Linked DNA regions of Homo sapiens: region 2 is linked to region 1. Evidence: promoter capture Hi-C in 16 types of primary human blood cells and fetal thymus (Javierre and others, 2016). All regions are on one chromosome and are shown on one strand. Each heading gives the region's core, a stretch centred on a gene start or on the middle of the fragment in contact. The rest is flanking DNA. Distances are from core to core; before and after follow the strand shown. Region 1 holds the start of ZNF25 (zinc finger protein 25). Region 2 has its middle 30 kb from the start of ZNF37A.

The links. Contacts are between HindIII fragments. The CHiCAGO score rates a contact against its expected background, and 5 or more counts as called.
Region 2: a contact is called between a fragment that was not itself captured here and the fragment with the promoter of ZNF25 in region 1, in 1 of 17 cell types (neutrophils). The highest score is 5.5, in neutrophils.

The regions. Positions count from the first base shown.
Region 1 is chr10:37,975,357-37,978,070 of GRCh38, reverse strand. ZNF25 (zinc finger protein 25) reads left to right here and starts at 1,424. Exons shown (of 6, transcript NM_145011.4): 1 at 1,424-1,565. ZNF25-DT (ZNF25 divergent transcript) reads right to left here and starts at 1,316. Exons shown (of 6, transcript XR_930830.4): 1 at 1,066-1,316. RefSeq lists enhancers at 1,181-1,410, 2,451-2,540 and a silencer at 1,451-1,860. The HindIII fragment of the contact is 11,670 bases long and covers 1-2,714 here.
Region 2 is chr10:38,063,040-38,065,936 of GRCh38, reverse strand. It overlaps a transcript of ZNF33A not described here. Among named protein-coding and RNA genes, the nearest start is that of ZNF37A, 30 kb to the left of the region's middle. The HindIII fragment of the contact is 1,932 bases long and covers 391-2,322 here.

The DNA of each region.
Region 1 (2,714 bases), core at 175-2,674:
TACCCGCGGTTAACTACCTGCGTGTCATAGAGATACCAGAAACTTTACTTTTCATTTGCATAATGGCAATTAACTAACACTGATGGCTACCCTAATTATCAGGTGAATTTCAGATGAATTATGCATAGCAAATGTTGCTGTACAGTCATCTTACTTGAGGACAAGTTATTTTTACCTTGAGGAAATAGAATGCGTTGTACCAGACCGGCTAATACAAAAAATGATAGTTCTTCCTGTCTTCATAAACTCATTAGTGGGTTGCCTGTGACGCACATCGCAGTCTGGTTTAATGTTTATTCAATAATGTAACTGTTTTGTTCTTTTCTCCATCTGTGGAGAGAATTTTCTGGGTTGGCAAGAGGCTTTATTTTAAATTATTTCCTCAATACTTCCCATCCAGAAAGGTGGTGTGTGTGTGTGTATTATGTGCGCATATTTTTATATGTATATATATGTGTGTTTATACACATGACAATATATACGTTTTTTTCTAGATGATTCTACATGTTTTAATGTAATAAAGTTATTGACCAGGAAATATATAATTTGTTTTACATATACAGCCAAGTCCTCTCTCTGTATCCGCGGGGGATTAGTACCAGGACCTCCCTGGATTACTCAAATCCAGGGATGTTCAAGTCTCTGGTAGAAAATAACCTGATATTTGCATAACCTACACACCTCCTCCTGTATATTTTAAATTATGTCTAGATTAATTGTACACCTAACACAATGTAAATACTATGTAAATAGTTTTATTGTATTGTTTAGGGTATAATGACAAGGGGGAAACTTTGTACATGTTCAGTAAGATAGAATTTTTAAGTATTTTCATTCTGAGCTTAGTTGAATCCATAGATATGCACCCCCAGGATAAGGAGGGATGACTATATATATTCCTTAGTGAAATGATAGTCATGATACTCTATACCATTAGGTTAAAATTTGTGTAAATTCATGAGAAGGATGTTCACCTAACATTAAGCGCTTTTGCTTTTGGGAAGTGGTATACTCGTTTTCTGTTTTAGCTTATACATATTTTGTAGTTTATTACGTTTCGCGTACCGTTTGCACAATTGTGAAAGCTAGCATTCCTAAGAGGAAGCGGTTACAGGGCATTATCCTTCATTACTCCACGTACTCCTGTACCCACGGAGTTCAATCACTTTAACAAAACTGCCCATCAGTGTTCCTTGGAGCACCTCACGGTGGATTTCTGTCTTCAAGCCCAGACGTGCAGGGTGCAGCTCTCCGGCCATCACTGAGCAAGGACAGCGCCCTCTCCCGGAAACCCGACAGCAATCACTCAGGCCGCTGGAGGCGGCCGCGCCTCACGACGTCATCCAAGATGGAGTCGCAGCCGGGCCTTCTGGGAAGCGTAGTTCTGGAGTAGGGCTAGGGAAACGTTCTGCGCATGTGCAGTGTCTTCTTTCTGGCATTGGCGTTTTTTTGGTCTTACGCCCTAGGGTGGGGAGAGGACTCCGGTGCCTCCGGGTCTGGGCTGGGCCGCAAAGGGCGGGGCCTGGGCCCGGCGCGGGCCGGGAGCAGAGGCCGAGACCCTGCAGGTGTGTCGAAGGCTTTTGCGGGCGGGCAGGGCCTGGGAGGCGGGGTCTCGAGCCTGGAAGCCGCCTCCTGGCCCCGGAGCGGCCTCCGCGGAGGGCCCTGGGTGGGAGCCGCCTGGTGGGGAGGTTGGCTGGCTGCGCTGGCGCCCCTGCCCGGAATGGCGTTTGCGCGACCTGCTTGAGGGGCGGCCAGAGGAGGCCTGCGGTGCTGGGCAGTGGGCGCCCGGAGCAGCCGCATTGTGTGACGTGACCGGAGCCGCCATGTGAGGCGCGCTGGCCGCTGCAGACGCGGCGCTCCAAAGCCGCAGGGACGTGGGCTCTGGTCCAGCGTCTGTAGGTGGTCCCAGTGCGGCTCGACGCGCATCTGGCAAATGATGGGGGCCTTTGGGTACTGAATAGGGTAATAGATGTAAAGTATGATACAGGACTCAATAAAGGTGAGCTGCTTCTATTATTACAAAACATGCTGTTTTCATTATTGGCTCATTTAATCATCGTAACCATCCTTTCGACTTAACCATCTCTATTAAAATAAATGTGACTATTAAAGATTCAGAGAGAGAAATCCGTTTACCCACAGTATTAGCAGGTGGGATGTAAATCCTCACTTTTTCCTCTGAGTTAATGCGCCTTGCCACACTAAAATCCAGTCTTGACTTGTATTTAGCACAGCATTTGCCCCTTGAGCACCACCAGAACGTAGCTGTGTGGTGTACTTGAACCCAGTCTCAACCAGGTAGTGTTCTGTTTCCAAAAATGCTTGGGGAATCTTCAGAGCACTTGAGTCAAAAGGTGAATTATTTAAGGCCTTCCTGCATCCTCCAACCTTAGTCTCTTCTCAGAGGACTGTGAAACGTGTAAATTGAAACCACAATTTGAGCCCTCAATTTTGCATTTTACAGGAGAAGCTGGGAATCCCATCCAGCCCAGAGGCTAGTTTCTAAAGACAGGAAATGGGACAAAAAATTTTTTTAAAGATGAAAACTGCAGTTCATCAGTTCCTCCATTTTATGGTGGTGATCTTATAATGCCTCTCATTGGCTGATAACTGAGCTTAGGCATTTCGTAAGCACCATGCTAGCTGGAAGTGGTTTTTGCTGCTTATTTTAGTTTTTTTTTTTGGTACATAATGTACATATTTGTGGGGTACAT
Region 2 (2,897 bases), core at 107-2,606, 88 kb before region 1:
GAGTTCGAGAACAGCCTGGCCAGTATGGTGAAACCTTGTCTTTATTAAAAATACAAAAATTAGCCAGTCGTGGTGGCATGTGCCTGTAATCCCAGCTACTCAGGAGGCTGAGACAGGAGAATTGCTTGAACCCGGTTGGCGGAGGTTGTAGTGAGCCCAGATAGGGCCATTGCACTCCAGCCTGGGCATAAGAGCAAAAATCCGTCTCAAAAAAAAAAAAAAAGTGTGTCCCATGGGAAGACATGGAAATTGGCTGGTGCACTGGCAACCAGCCCACTGGAGTTGGTGGTGCGGAAGGAAAGCACAAGAAACCATGTAGAATGAGGCTGGATCTGCCAGGGTGTTCACTAATGTATTTGTTGCCTCTACATTTCCAGCCATGTTTAAGCTTTCTTTCCTGATCGTATTTGAAGTGACATATTGAGAGAACAGATGTAACAGTTTTACAAACTGCCTGGGACATAAGAGCAGGTCAACAGGTATCGCTTGTCTTTTAGGATAGAATCCTTATCGTGAGTTATCAAGTCCCCACATGAAACACTAAGGAATGATTAAAAGCACATTCCTGGCCGAGCACGGTGGCTCATGCCTGTAATCTCAGCACTTTGGGAGCCAAGGCGGGTGATCATCCAAGGTCAGGAGTTCAAGGCCAGCCTGGCCAACATGGTGAAACCCCGTCTCTACACAAAATACAAAAATTAGCCAGGGCACGATGGTGTGTGCCTGTAATCCCAGCTACTCGGGAGGCTAAGGCAGGAGAATTGTTTGAACCTGGGAGGCGGAGGTTGCAGTGAGCCGAGATCGCACCATTGTACTCCAGCCTGGACATTGCAGCGAGATGATCTCAAAACAAACAAATAAACAAACAAAAAACTGCATTCCTCTACACCCTCCAGTAAGGAGGAGGCAGCCACAGGGTTTGATTATGACAGTCACTATCTATTCAGAGTTAGATATTTGGTTCATAGGAGTCTCCTTATCTAGTATTGCATCTGGAATGAATGAACTCTGAGGTATATATGAATGATTCCAGGCTCAGCAGTAAGTATTGATAATTAGTGAGCTCCTCTTTAAATGGATTTTCATCAGAGGTCCCTTCACATGGATTGTGTGTTATGAAATGCTTTTGACTATGGGGAGATGACAGAGAGCCAAGGAAAGTCAGTCAGTCTTTGGCCAAAGCCTTTGTGAGACCTAAAGAGTGAGAGGGAGGCAGAAAGAGCAAGTGAGCGTGAGACAAAAACAAGTGTGGGGTGGGGAAGAGGTGAAGGAAGAGTGGACACACACCCTTTGGCCAGCTCTGGCTTTAGGATGCCAGCCAGTGTCTCCTAGCCCGGGGACCTTTCCTCTGGAGATCACAGATGGGAGAGAGAAGGAAGTGATTCTTGGTATTGAGCTCAAATAGATACTTAAAATTATGTAGACTAAATCGGATAAAACTTGAATCTTCTTTTCCCACTTAGATTTGGTTTCAAAACCAGAGAAGACACCTGAGGCTGAGCTGGCTGCAGTGTGGACACTCCTCGGGAGGACAGCAGCTCCAAGGACACGAGAAGCCTCAGCCCTGGGCCCCAGGTGAGTCCCCAGCAGTGCCAGTGCACTTCCTCAGTGCAACTCTTTGAAGTAGAAATGTCTCTTTAGGCTGTTTCCAGATTTGTTGCAAGAATGCTGATGTCTCTTCCACAGCATGCTAGTGTTGGAGATGTGACCACCATCCCCATCTTGTGGGAAGGTAGTTTGGAAGAAGGGAAGGCCATGGATCTTCCAGTCCTGGTGTGGCAGGCAGTGCAGAGTCCTCTTCTTCCAGCACTGCAGGGGTTTAATCCAAGGGCATGAGCATCTCAGGGGCCTGGGAGGGAGTAAGGATGGTGAGAACAATATTTGAAAATGTCTGTCGTAGGGTTGATGTGAAGATGGCCTGAAAGCCCTCTTTTCTTCCTGTTTTCCTACAGAATGCACTGTCCTGCAGGCACCACAGACACCAGGCAGTGGATACCTTTGCTGAATCCTAAGGAGCCAAAGCATTTTTATGACAAACATGACCTCCTCCCTGCAATCGTCACATCCTGGGTAGTCTGGACAATGCATAAACCAGAACTGAACCAAGGTGAAAATAGGTAAAAGAGACACATCCACACTTCACTCCCTTTGGTGAGTTCACAGGGTGAGCCTGAAGGCAGACTGACGCAGAGAAAACAGGGGTGCTATATTTCATCTTGATGTCAGTTCATCACAAAGAGTTTGCATCTTAGCTCTTACCAGAGGAGATGGGAACTAGAAGTTACCTCACTATCTATCTACCAATGATTGGTAACACAAGCTTAGATGCATAATACCGGATAGTGTTCACATGTAATCCTCCCTTTAAACATGTAGACAGAGAACATGACAAGGAAATGCAAAACAACTCCATGAAATCACTGAACAAAGCAGGATGTTCATCTTCTGATACTATTAGCATTTTGTATATATTTACATGCACCTCTATGCACAAAGCTGCCCATTTTGTTATAAATAATTTTTGTCAAGTTCAAGCCTCTTGGTTGTCTTTGTCTGTCTCCTCTTTCCCATTCAAGTGGTACCTTCCGAGAATACACCACAGATTACCAAGCTATGTCTGCTTCCACCGGTGCCTTAAAAATATCCTTAAAAAGGAAATGTGATTTATTAAGATATCTGTCTTTCCCACAGTTCCTTCATTCATTTGTGCTATCTCCTTTCCATGTGAACCTGTGGGACCAGTCAGAATGCCTTGCTCTAGTTCATAGCTTGTATCTGCAAAGATGCCAGTCTGTTATTACTACACACGGACACAGTTGCATTTTGCTTTAGGGTTTCTTTAGAGTGTGCATACTCCAAACTCACTGTTTACTTCCAGATGACCGGCACAGGATACT